2 separate regions of the Homo sapiens genome follow, and region 2 is linked to region 1. The links are contacts of gene promoters, found by promoter capture Hi-C in blood cells and fetal thymus (Javierre and others, 2016). All regions are on one chromosome and are shown on one strand. The core of a region is centred on a gene start or on the middle of the fragment in contact, and the rest is flanking DNA. Distances in the headings are between cores, read along the strand shown.

Region 1 (6,939 bases), core at 3,531-6,030:
AAGATATATCCATTATAAAAGAGGACAGAAAGGCATAGCAAGGATGGGGATGTGCAGGAAAGGGAGGGGAGAGGGAAGAAAGTAAACTGACCATAAAAGAAACCAATTCAAATGGAAAACAGCGACTAACCTTGACACAGGAATGAATCATGAAGGCTGGATGGGTAGACTGGGAGGGGTGAAAAGAATGTATATTCTTTGTTTTAAGCTATATATAAAATTGTCAGATTTAGCCAAAGCCTAGTTGGAATGGGAGTTGGCTAAATTACATGAAATGTAACACAGACATTGCCAAAACTACTTCACAGGGTTGTTCTGAACAACGAGACACAAATTGTGAAGATGTTCCCCAAATTGCAAAATGCTACACTAATGTAAGACAGATAGTTTACACAATATTCCAGTTCAATCTTTCCTTTCAACTCTGGGAAATTACAAGTGCAAACAATGAGATCTACAGAGCACAGAAAGAAAAAAACCTCCACTGCTCCATTATCAGATTTTCAGGGAACAGCAGGCTTCACAGTCACAGAGAAGCCTGACTTTCAAAACAGAGCAAAGATGGTGACAAACTGATCGAATGGAGAGATACGCTCTTATGCATGTGGGCAATGTCCCCACTCCTGGTATTACCCACAGCAATTCTTAGAGGGAAAATTATTCAGTAGAGGGAAAATTATTCAGTAGAGGGAAGAGGGAGTAAACAGATTCCCTTGCCTACTTCACCCTAAACTTCATAAACCTCTTTTATCTGCACATGAATAAGATTAAACTACTCCAATTATTGTCTTATAAAAGGAAGGACTGAGAGGATAAAAATGGTACAAATTCACCAACATATGCCAAAACACAGAGTATCTTTCCTTAACATAAGAAACAGGAAGAGAAGAAAATTTAACAGTGTGTCAGGTATGTGTGTGCATTGTTATAATCAGTTAAAAGCTAGAAAACTGAAGCTTAATAACTAATTTATTCAAGGCCACTTATCCAACACCACAGAGCCAAAATTTAGCCCTGGGTCTGTTTCATGTCAAAGTCCTGGCTGGCAATTTCCACAAAACTGCCTTCCATCATCAAAAGAAGTTAGGAAGATAAACAGTGAGAACAGCCAACACATTTTTTTGCTATCTATTTTTTCTTGTTAGTTCTATGACTATTTAAGAAAATATTTTGGCATTGAATAATATTTCTATTACATAGCATTTCCTCCTTTGCTAATGCTTAGTAACTCTACAAAGATGACTCATCATATCAGAAGCATCATGAATTAATGCATTTATCTGCAGCAGCTGCTAATACCACAAAAAGAGAGAAAACCACAGATTATGCGCCACCTACTAAATGAACACAACATAACCTATGAAACATTCATGCCAAAAGCCATGTTTCAATCTCATCAAGTCTCTAGACATAACTAGCAAATTAAAGAAACAGAGGATAGAGGAAAGCAAACATTACCATAGGGATGCAATTAGCAAAACTTAAATTGTGGCAAATGCTACATGTGAAACAACCTCATTTCATAAACAAAATCGCAAGGAAAAAAAGAAAGATGAAAGGGAAACATACGGATTAAGAAGACACTTAGGAGATTTACGGGATTCTACTAATTAAAAATAATAAAACAAGTAGCATTTATGAGGCAATTGGAAGTTTGAACCCTCACTGGATATTTACTGATATTAAAGAATTACTGTAAATATCACTTGCGATAATGGAATTATCATTTTTTTCCATATCATCCCATAGCTTTCAGAGATATATAAAGAATATTTATGGATAAAATGATCAGATGTCTGCTATTTGTTACAAAATAATACTAGAACATGGGGAGTGAGTGAGGCTAAGTTAAAAAAGATTGTTCATGGATTCATAATTGCTGAAATTGAGTGAAAAGTACATGGATGTTCATCATAGTATGATGTAACATTATGTATGTTTGCCAAAAAAAGAACATGTCAGGGCTGGGGGGGCAGTTAAAAAAAAACGCATGCCACATCACTGAAAAACGTCCTCATATTTTTCAAGGAAAGAAATGTATTATCAAGGAATCACAGAGCAGAAAGACCTTAAAAGCAATCTATTCAAACCACCTCAATTTATAAATAAGGAAATTAAGGCTCAGATAGGTTAACTGACTTGCTCAGGGTCACACAACTTGTCAGTTCCAAACTCAAGATCAGAATTTAAATCTCCAAACTTGTAGTCCAGGGCTGTGCTCTTTTTGCAAACCAAAAAGAAATGACTGCACTTAAATATTTAGTCCAGAATATCCTCAAAATTGACTGTAATAAAAGTAAGCCACATGATGAGGAATGAATAGAGTTGGTTCATACCAAAAATGAGCTGCCAGTCACAGTGATAAGATCTGTTTCTTTCTGAGAACCATGGTTTCCTGCTGCATTGGGGAATCCAAACTGGGTTTCTCCCTCCTGTCCAAAGAAGTCAGAGTCAGGATGTACGTTCCACTCCGCTTTGGTTGGTGTCAGTAGTTCTGAGACACTGTTTTCACAAAGGGTGCTCGAAGGAGTCAGAGCATCTGTGTCCACTGTTAGCTTACTGCTGGGTGTCAAAGCCTGAGGCTCTGGACTGGAGTTTTTCATGGCCAAAGAGTCCAGAGATCCCAATGGCCCCACACTTACACTTGAGACCTCATCCATATTTAAGGAGCTCTGCTGAAAACCAGTGGCCGCCGTTCCAAAAAAGAGAGAGGTATCCAGACTTTGAGGAGGGTCGCTGGTGGCCATCAAGGACGGAGGGTCCACAGCCTGCCCTACGGAATTATTATTATTAGCAGGGAGGTGCCCTGCCAGAGTCGAGCTCACAGAAGCCACATCAATAGTCAAGATTCCAGAGTTCACCAATGCTGTGTCCAGCAATGCAGCAGAAGTACTGTCAGGTACATCAGAGAAGAGAGACACTATCTCTGCATCACTGAGATCATTCTGTCTCTGGCTGGTAAGTTCACTGCTGGGTGTGAGAGAATTTGCTGCTTCTAGCTGAGCTAAGAGATCCTGGCCCACCTTATGCCTTTTAACCATGTGCGTCTTCATGCTGTGCTTGGATGTGAAGAGTTTATTACAAGAGGAGATCGGGCAACGGCTTTTCCAAGTGTCCACATCCTGCAGGTGTTTCTTGGAGTGAATGTAGAGGCTACTGCGAGCAGAGAACCTGGCACAGCAGCCTGCCACAGGACACACGAAAGGCTTTGTGCCCAGGTGGGTTATGCTGTGGCCTTTCAGATGTTCCGCCCTCGTGAAAGATTTCCCACAGCCTTCCACAGGGCACATGAACCTCCGGTCATCGTCGTGCTTTCTTTTGTGCCTTAAGAGTTTGGACATGCTAGTGAAGTTCCAGCCACAGCCATCAAAGTCACAAAGGAAAGGTCTCTCGCCGGTGTGACTCCGCAGGTGAATTTTCAGCCTACAAGCCTTGTCATATTGTTTGCTGCAGCCAGGAAAAGAGCAGGAAAACAGTTCCTGTTCCCTGAAATGGGCGCGGTTATGGGAAAACAGAGCACTCACTGTGATAAATGTCTTCTTGCAGCCAGAAAACGCGCACTGGTAAGGCCTCTCCGGTTCGAAGTGGCTGCGCTGGTGGGCGCTGAGTTTGGCCTGCGTGGGGAAGCTCTCCTCGCACACCTCGCATTTGAATGAGTTCTCCTGCTCATGGCCCTTCATGTGCGCCTTGAGGTTGTACACTGTGGTGAAGCTCTTGCCACAGCCCTCTGCCGGGCAGCCAAAGGGCCGCAGTTTGTCGTGCGACTGCAGGTGCCTCTTGAGCTTGTAAGAGGTGGTGAAGGTCCAGCCGCAGCCACCCAGGGGGCATTTGAAGGGCCTCTGGCCCTGGCTGCTGCTGTGCGTCAGCAGGTGCACCTTCAGCTGGTGCTTCTTGGCGAAGGTTTGCCCGCACTGCGCCTCGGGGCACAAGTACAGCACCACGCCTGGGCCGGAGCCCAGCGGTCCGCGGGGGCCCAGGGCGGCGGCCGGGCCCTCCGCCTCCTCCTCAGGCGCCGGAGCTGGCGCGGGTTCGGCCGGCTCAGCTAGCAGGAGGTCTGGCGGCAGCTCTGGGCAGTCACCCGGGTGCGCGGCATGCGGGAACCCAGCTTGCGGGGCGATCAGACACCCGGGCTGCTGGGCAGGAGCGGCCCCTGGCTCCCAGGCGTGTGGTGGGGGCGTGGCCAGGGTGAGGACGCCGTTCTCAAAGCGCAACAGCAGGTCCTGGTTGTGGATAGTGACTGTGCCCGCGAAGGCCGCGGCGGGGCCGGGGGCGGAGATCGGGGCCGGAGTGGGAACCGCGGACAGGCAGCGGGGGCCTAGCGCAGTGGGCCCCGCGGGATTCGCGCCGCTCTCGCCCCCCTGGAGCCCCGGGCCCTCCTCGGCCTCCTCCCTCAACACAGGCCCTGCGGCCTGACCGGAGCCCGCGGTCTCCACGTCGCCACCCACCGGGTCAAGCAGCACCAGGAAGAAGTCGTCGCCGCCGCCGCCGCCGCCGCCGCTAGGTTGATCGGTCCTCGGCGCCAACAGGCTTGGGCCAGGGCCCCGTGATGCCGTGCTGGCCTCCTCGCGCCGCCGCCCGGGCCCGCCATCTTGGGGGCCCCGGAGCAGCAGGAGGCGGCGCGTGGGGACCTGGCCAGCCGGCGAGTCAGGGCCTCGGTGGACTCGGCCGCCACCCGCGGGGATACCGCCGCCGCCGCCGCCCTGTAGTGTCCCGCGAGCCGGGAGCAGCTTCGGGATTTCCATCTCTGCGTCCGAGAGGCTCGGCTGGAACCAGAGCCGAGGAGGAGGCGCGATCCCGCCCCCTGCCGCGGGCCTGAACACGTTCCTGAAAGGGGAAAAAAAAATGTGCAATGCGCAGAAACTGGCCCTATCAGATATTAAAACGTATTTAACGCCACAGTGATTTAAATATTCTGGTACTGGGTCTCTGGAACAGAATAGAAAGCCCAGAGGTAGAGCCTGGTATGCATAAATACGTTCTACAGTTAATATAAGTAAGTAATTAAGGGGGTCTTCTGAGGTAATGGGGAAATGACGACAGCTTGTTCAGTAATGCTGTGGAACACCTAGGTATCTATCCGCTGGAAGCAATTTTAATCCATGACTCATTGTATATACCCAAATAAACACACCCCAGCCCCTCCCAGTGTTAGATATGTTGCTTCGTACTTTCTGTGTGTTAAAATTTGCTGGCTGGCTGGCTGGCTGGACTGATGGATGAAAGACAATTCCTGAGAGAAAAAACTGTCTCTGTGTCAGCATTAAACCACCATAGCGCTGGCAGTTCTGCTGAAAATGTCCTTCCCCTTCCCACCTCCCCGCGGGACAACTTCCATATTCACAATTATCTTGAGCAAAGTCTTCGGTACAATTTGCCGCATAGTTCAAATTTTGTCTTGCTGATACAGACATTAGAATGAGTGAGAGATGCGGCCAAAACAGGTTAGCACTCTTCAGCCTAGAAATTCAAAGTCTGGAGGATGAAACAATTTACACTGAAATCTGGAAAAAACCCAACCTTCTCCTGGCTTCTCCCTATACAGTGCACAACCTAAACCAACTTTTGCCCTTCCACCATCGGTTGTACTGTGATAAATTTCATGTCTGCTCTCACAGCACAATGAGGGCATTCATTCCTCAGTTTACTCTGCCTTCTCCAGCACGTGGAGGTCTCTGGGCAGGAGTTTCAGTTAAATGTGTTTAGGTTAAATCCTGAGTCACTGCAATGGATTCTGCCAAGTAAAAGGCACAGACGATCTTGTCCAATCAACCTGGTGTACCTGTTCACATTTAAGTGTGGTGGCCCAGGCTTGCTGGGCCTGTGGTGCCTAATGATCTTATTAATGATGATGACAATCCTTCATTTTGTCCGTTACGACTGAGTTGGGAATTGACACAAATATAGGGTGAAATATCTGAGATAAGAAAGCTTAGAGTAATGACTAGATTGGTGGTGGTGGGGGAGCGGGGTGTAACCTGTTGTTTAAATACTCCCAGCTCTCTCGCCCTCTTTTAATGACAGTGGACACTTGGTCTCTTGAAAATCAAGCTATTCATCCATAACTATTTGAACCTCATCAAAATGTCTACTCCACATACTTTTCTTTCTATTACTTTTTCTGGTGGAAGCATTTTTCAAATCTGAGGTATAGAAGAGTGCATAAAACATATTTGTATCGTTTAGATTATTTTACAAAAGCAGACACCTGTGTAACCAGGACCAAGGTCAAGCAATAGACCACTGCCAGCCTTCCAGAATACAGCCGCTGTACTCCTCCCAATCACAACCCACACTCTCCTATATGAATATAGTCATTGCCCTGACTTTGTAATAATCATTTCACTGCTTTCCTTTATAGCTTTATCACTTTTGTACGCATCCGTAAACAATAGAGTTGATACGAAGTTGTATAAATGGAATCATACGGCAAGTTTCCTTTTATAACTTGTTTCTTTCACTCTGTATTATACTTGAGACTCATCCATGTTGTTCATAATAGTTATAAGTAAGTAGATCCTTTGTCTCCATCGACTGTCGTTCCAGCATATGCTTATAGCAAAGTGATTATGGTATGATTATACCACTCCATTCTACAGCAGATGAACATTAGGATTGCTTCTATTTTTCAGCGATTATTATGAACATTCTTGCACATTTCTCATGGGACACATGTGTAAAAATCTCTCTAGGGTATATATCCAAGAATAGAATCACAGGGCCATAGGGTATGGATATCCTGAGCTTTACTAGATGATGCCAAATTGTTCTCTGTAGTGATTGGGCAAGCTGTCAATCCCACCAGCAGCACAGAGAGCCCCTACTGCTCCACATCTTCACCCACACCAAGTATTGCCAGAATTTAAATTTTGCCAGTCTACTGGTGGGCAATACCCAAATTACTAGTAAGCTTTAGCACATTTTCGTGTTTATGAGCCTTTT
Region 2 (6,509 bases), core at 1,149-3,648, 1.9 Mb after region 1:
CACTTGTTTAAAACAGGAAGTGAAGGAAGTACCATAGTAAGAAGTCAATAAATAAAGTCTAGGGCTGGGAGTGGTGGGTCATGCCTTTAATCCCAGCACTTTGGGAGGCTGGGGAGGGAGGATCACTTGAGGCCAGGAGTTCAAGACCAACCTGGCCAACATAGCGAGACCCCATCTGTAAATAAGTGAAGTCTAGAATTGAGAACAGAAAGACTACTGGTAGGGATATGCACACCAGGAAAAATGCCCAGAGGGGTTCAAAGATGTTCCTTCTGGAGAATGGGGTAGGGGATAGGACGTGATATGTCAGGGGACTATTATTTTTTATCTGAAGCCCTTCTGTGCTATATATATTTCTATAATGTATAAATGATATATAATAATAAGATTAATATGACATTTAATTATATTTAATATAATCAACTAATACTTAAATAATATGTTATAAATATGTTATTTTAAATAAATGTGTAGTTTAATTATATTATTTATAATTAATATATGATATACTACATGTATTATTTACACGTAAGTGTGTACATATATTACTTTGATAAGAAAAAAAGGGAAGGAAGGAAGAGAAACTGCAGGAAACAGAGTACTATTATTGAAACTGCCTTTGCAAAAACTGTAACTGAGGAAATTATGACAGTGAAAGAGATCAGACCTCACCGACTCCATCTTACATCTAACCTTTAAGGTGTCCTTGTTCATTCCTGGGCGTAGGCCGAACTAACCTTGGGAAGGAATTTAGTTTATAGTTTAACTCTGATACAAAATTGATAATAGCCCTTTCTCCCTCCCGCTGCCCCCCACTAAAAAAAAACAAAAAAACAAAAAAACCTTCTTACCTGGGAACCAGTCGGCCTTTGCAGGACTAACAAATTAGCCACAAGATTACAAGATTAGAAATTACAATTCAGGGGCCATGCAGCCTCCAGCTGCAAGAGTCTGAACCTCCCCAAATTGCTCCCAGGAATAACATCACTGTTTTAAAACCTAAGATCACTGTTTGATATGTTTTGCAGACCCTGCATTCAGATGCACCAGCTTATGATACAGGAGCGGGGCAGGAAAGTGCTGGGCAGAGAAAGGCGGGTCCGTGGCTAGGGCTCCACCCTGGGGCCTGTGCCCATGGACCTAGGTGAGGATAGGCACTCCTGCCTTCCCACCCAAATGTTATATTCACCCCTAGAGGTTGCCATGGGGTCGGAGCCCCACAGCCTGCCCCTCTGCATGCTCCCCCTAGAGGTTGTGAAGCAGTGAGCCACTCCCGCTGTGGCATGCCCTGCAAGGGGGATAGGGGAACTTCCCTCGTTTCACTTACAGCACCCAGACCAGTAATCTGGCCCAGCCAGTTCTGCGATCCCACCCAGGAACAGAAGATAGCAAGAAAAACTCACTTAGAGCCCCCTATGATTCCATATCCAACTTGACCAGTCAACACTCCCCACTTCCCAAGCCCCTACCCACCAAATTATTGTTAAAAATTTCAATCCCCCGAAACTGATTTGAGTAATAAAACTGCAGTCTCACCCACAGCTGGCTCTGCATGAATTACTCTTTCTCCATTGCAATTCCCCTGTCTTGATAAATCAGCTCTGTCTAGGCAGCAGGCAAGGTGAACCCGTTGGGCAGTTACACTGTCTGCTCCCACACTTTCCACTTGAGGTCCTGTGTGATTCCTTTTCTCCACAACTGCCTTGCCTCAAGAAAAAAGTTATTCTACTCTGATTAGTGATCCTTCGCTCTATCACTAGCTAATCTTTTGTCTCCTTCCAACCAACTACCCCCAAACAAGCTTCCATTCTGGCTTTCCTTGTCTGATGAAAGATCCTGAGTCCCAAACCAGGAAGTCACCTTAGATTCACTGCCCTCCATACGTGTCAATGAGACCAGGTCATGATCAGTCTATTTTCTACTACCTGCCTGCTCTTATTCTTACTGCCACTCTTTTTGTTCCAGCTATCATAATCTCTGGCCTAGATATCCACAATAGCCTACTAAGTGATTTTCCCACAGTGGCAGCTCCAAAGGGGTTGGGAGTGAGTGAGTTGATCTTCATTAGTCATCTCATCCCCCAAAACATTTGACGTAATTAATATGTGCTTGCTTTCTAAAGGCAGCTTTCAAATATGTCTTCCAACACCTACTGCCCCCGGGCTTCACCAGCCAAATTGGCCCCTTAAACCACTCTTTTATAAAAATGTACTGTCTCGGCCAGGTGCAGTGGCTTACACCTGTAATCCCAGCACTTTGGGAGGCCAAAGTGGGCGAATCACCTGAGGTCAGGAGTTCGATACCAGCCTGGCCAACATAGTGAAACCTCATCTGTACTAAAACTACAAAAATTAGCCAGGTGTGGTGGCACGCGCCTATAATCCCAGCTACTCGGGAGGCTGAGGCAGGAGAATTGCTTGAACTCAGGAGGCGGAGGTTGCAGTGAGCCAAGATCGCACCACTGCACTCCAACCTGGGCGACAAAGCAAGCAAAAAAAAAATACTGTCTCCCTGTTGCTGCTGGTATCCTTTTCCCCCTCCTTCAAACCATCCATCCTCTCTAAAAGCTGCTCAAGTGATCCTTTATTTTAATTAATTAATTAACTAGTTTTTGTTGAGACTGGGTCTCACTTTGTTGCCAGACTCAAACTCCTGGCCTCAAGGGATCTGCCCACCTTGGCCTCCCAAGGTGCTGGGATTACAGGTGCGATCAAATTTCTTTTTATCGTCGTTGTAGTTGTTGTTGTTCTTGTTGTTTTTGAGACAGGGTTTTGCTCTCTGACCCAAGCTGGAGTACAGTGGCACAATCATGGCTCACTGCAACCTCAACTTGAGTAATCTTTTAAACCACAAATCGGAGGAGACTACTTCTCTACTTTAAAATCCTCCCATAACTTAAGGAAAAAGTGTGTCAATACAAGGACCTTCAAGATCTGGCCTATAGCAACTCACGAGCTATATTTCTCTACCCACATTCACTACCTCACAAGCTTCATAAGGAACTGCTGATAGTTGCCTCAAAGTGCCAAGAGGCAAGAAGTAAGAAGAGGAAGAAACAGATAAAGAAGGGGAGGGGAGGGATGAAGAAGAAAAGGGGGAGAAGTGGGGAGATGGGAAAGAGGGAAGGAATAGAGGGGTAAGGAGAAGAGGAAAAAGGAGGAAGAGGGGTAGAAGGAAGGGAATGGAAGAAAGGTAGTGGAAAAGGATTGAGAAACTAAATCAAATAAGCATAGATTCCAAATAATGGTGAATAGGGCCAATGTGCAGTGCATTCCTATTGTAAATCAAAAATAAAATACCAAGGTTCCTCAACCATTTGAATGTGCTTTCTCCTCGGCCAGGGCACTCTTTAAAAATGTATCCTGAGTGACTTTCTGGCCATGACAGGAAGTAGGGGTCAAACATGCCTCATTATATTTCTCCAGCTTTAACATCAACACAGACCTTTAAATCTGATAAGAAGCATTTACATTCTATTCTTTCTGAACCTGCAGGCTTCCTGCATGATTAAACTTTAGTCTCCACAACCTCTTATCTTAACCCAAACATTCCTTTCTATTGATCCTAGGTCTTTAAACTCAACCAATTGTCAACCAGAAATTTTTTCAATCTACCTATAAGCTGGAAGCCCCCCTCCCACCCCCACTCCGAGTTGTCCCACCTTTCTGGGCCAAACCCATATATTTCTTACATGTATTTGACTGAAGTCCCTTGTCTCCCTAAAATGTATAAAACCAAGCTGCACCGCAGCCACCTTGGGCACTTGTTTTCAGGATCTCCTGAGGACTGTATCACAGGCCATGGTCACTCCTATTTGGCTCAGAATAAATCTCATCAAATGTTTTCCAGAGTTTGACTCTTTGTTGACACTATATAGTCCAGCAGTTCAGATTCTGGTTTCTACCCAGGTACCTTTGGCTGCTTATTTTTCACATTTTTATTCTTAAAAAAAAAAAAACCCTTACATACATAGGAAGCGGAGGTCACTTTTTATTTTTGTTGAATTAATTTTTAAACATTTAATTATAGGTTCTTTTCAGAAAGTGTGAACTAAGCTCTATTACTCACACATTCATTCAACAAATGTTTATTGAGCAGCCTTTCGGTGCCAGGAACTGTGTTGGACAGCAGGGATACAAACATCACTCTATTTCAGGTTCCACTGCCTGTCAGATGCTTCTGTCTTAACACCTCAGCTCCACTATACTCACACAAACATCAGCATTCCCTTTGTCTAGATCCCAACACATATATTTTTTTAACCATCCATCTCAGCAAGAAAAAGTAATACAGGCCCCCAACAAATCCTTTAATAAGTTTCATTTTATGCCCTAAATTCAATCTAGTTACCTGTATCTGCAAACATACTCCTGAGTCTCCAATACTCAAACTGTCACTCATAAGTTGCCTGCCCTTCTCCTCCTCCACCTTTCCCTTCTTCCTCTTTTTCCATAGCTCACTGCTACTTCCCAGAGCTCCTTAAGTTTACTCCTACATACTGCTAGCAGCTCTTTTCTCCCCATTCCCACATCATGGCTTAAAATATCACAAAATGTTCTATTTAACAAGATTTAACGACTTGATTGATGAAAACTTAATGTGGGGACTTTCAGTTTCCAATCCTACATATAAGGAGCTTAAAAGTCACCACTCCATGTTAACAATAAGTAAAAAACTGAACAAACTGAAAAATCAACAATTAGTCTTAATTCCTTTAGAGAAGTGAGGCCACAGGACACACAGCTGCTGCCAGAATTGGGGAGAGAGGCAAATACAGATAATGACAAGTTTCCAGACCAAAATTCCATGAGCAGAAGCCTCCATGGGAGCCATTACCTAGGTAGAAAAACCTGAACTGTCAGAGGTATTTGAACCAGAGCAACTCCATCTTTAGTAGGGGCTGGGTAGAATAAGGCTGAGACCTGCTGGGCTGCATTCCCAGACAATTAAGGCATTCTAAGTTACAGGATGAGATACAAGGTCAGCACAAGATACAGGTCATAAAGACCTTGCTGATAAAACAGGTGGCATTAAAGAAGCCGGTTAAAACTCACCAAAACAAAGATGGTGACGAGAGTGACCTCTGGTTGCCCTCACTGCTACACCAACCAGCACCATGACAGTTTACAAATGGCATGGCAATGTCAGGAAGTTACTCTATAAGGTCTAAACAGGGGATGCATGAATAATCCACCCCTTGTTTAGCATATCATCAAGAAATAACCATAAAAATGGGCAACCAGTGCCCCTTGGGACTGCTCTGTCTATGGAGTAGCCGTTCTTTTATTACTTTACTTTCCTAATATCTTGCTTTCACTTTATGGACTTGTCCTGAATTTTTTCTTACAACCACCAAAGGGACTATACTGCAGAAACACCTAACCCAAAGACTAACTTTGGGTAAGTGGTGGGGTCTAGTAACATCTTTTTGACAAACCTCGAAGGGACAATACTGAAGAAACAACCCGACCAAAAGGAAATAAACTGCAGCACTGATTGTCCCATTTTGGGTAAGTGGTGGGGTACCCAGGTAAAGGACGCGATTGGGTTAGAGGCCCAATTTAGAGGAGTTAAAGTCTCTCATAAGACAGAGTGGGTTAGAGGCCCCTCTTAATAAAAGGCAAGGACACTTGACCAACCTTGGGTTAGAGGCCCAACTTAGGAAAATTAGGTTCCCTTCTAAGACTTAGGGGGTTAGAGGCTCCTCTCAGTAAATTCCCTTTTGGCTAAGAATGAGTTTGGCACTACAGGATGTTAACTGCTATTATCTTTGGAATAATCTGCCTTGCACCCTTTGCTGTGGGTGACAGGATTAGGCATGTACAGGATAGTGGGATATGGGGGGCTTTTTTCTCCCCAAAAACGAGAAAGTTGAGAGCTGATGGGACTGCTGGAAAATATGCCTTCACAACTGAAAAGCGCCCATCTGAACTTTTGATTCAGTGTGGCTGCAGGGGGTGGGTCTTTTGCTTTACCTCCCTGAGTTCTTCACCTTCCCCACCCTGCCACAGGCAATGCTTTTCTTTCTCTCCCTTCTCTTTCCTATCTTTTCTATTACTCAGGGTGACCATCTTGCCCAGAGACCACAAGTTGAAACTCCTGGTCAGAGGTTGGATTAATGATAATGGGGCCCAACCAGGGGCAAGTTTGGGCCTTGCCAGTTTGATATTGCACAGTGGCTAATGTCTATGTTTTGTCATATGTATTTTGCTCTGGCCAGAACAGAAAATGATAATTTTCCTTAGTGTTGCAGCTTGGCCCCCAGGGCTATGGTGCAGGAAGCCGGGTCACTAGGTTGAATCAGGGAAAGGAAACCCAGAAGCCTGGCATGCTGGCAAAAGAGCAAGAATTTCTTATGAGTCAGACTTCTGGTCTCTCTCTCTCTCCCCCCGCTCCCCCGTGCAAACCAGTTGAAAGAATGGTAAAAATAACTGTTTATTTCCTGTGTAATGTTTGATTAATGGATAAAAAGGATTTATGAGGATTTGTGAGGCTAGTCTTAAGCTGTA

Evidence for each region. Contacts are between HindIII fragments. The CHiCAGO score rates a contact against its expected background, and 5 or more counts as called.
Region 2: a contact is called between a fragment that was not itself captured here and the fragment with the promoter of ZXDB in region 1, in 1 of 17 cell types (total B cells). The highest score is 7.0, in total B cells.

What each region holds. Positions count from the first base shown.
Region 1 is chrX:57,589,852-57,596,790 of GRCh38, reverse strand. ZXDB (zinc finger X-linked duplicated B) reads right to left here and starts at 4,780. Exons shown (of 1, transcript NM_007157.4): 1 at 1-4,780. The coding sequence starts at 4,742. The coding sequence ends at 2,331. RefSeq lists silencers at 3,903-4,092, 4,153-4,442. The HindIII fragment of the contact is 4,972 bases long and covers 959-5,930 here.
Region 2 is chrX:55,710,758-55,717,266 of GRCh38, reverse strand. No RefSeq gene overlaps it. Among named protein-coding and RNA genes, the nearest start is that of RRAGB, 3.7 kb to the left of the region's middle. The HindIII fragment of the contact is 1,189 bases long and covers 1,804-2,992 here.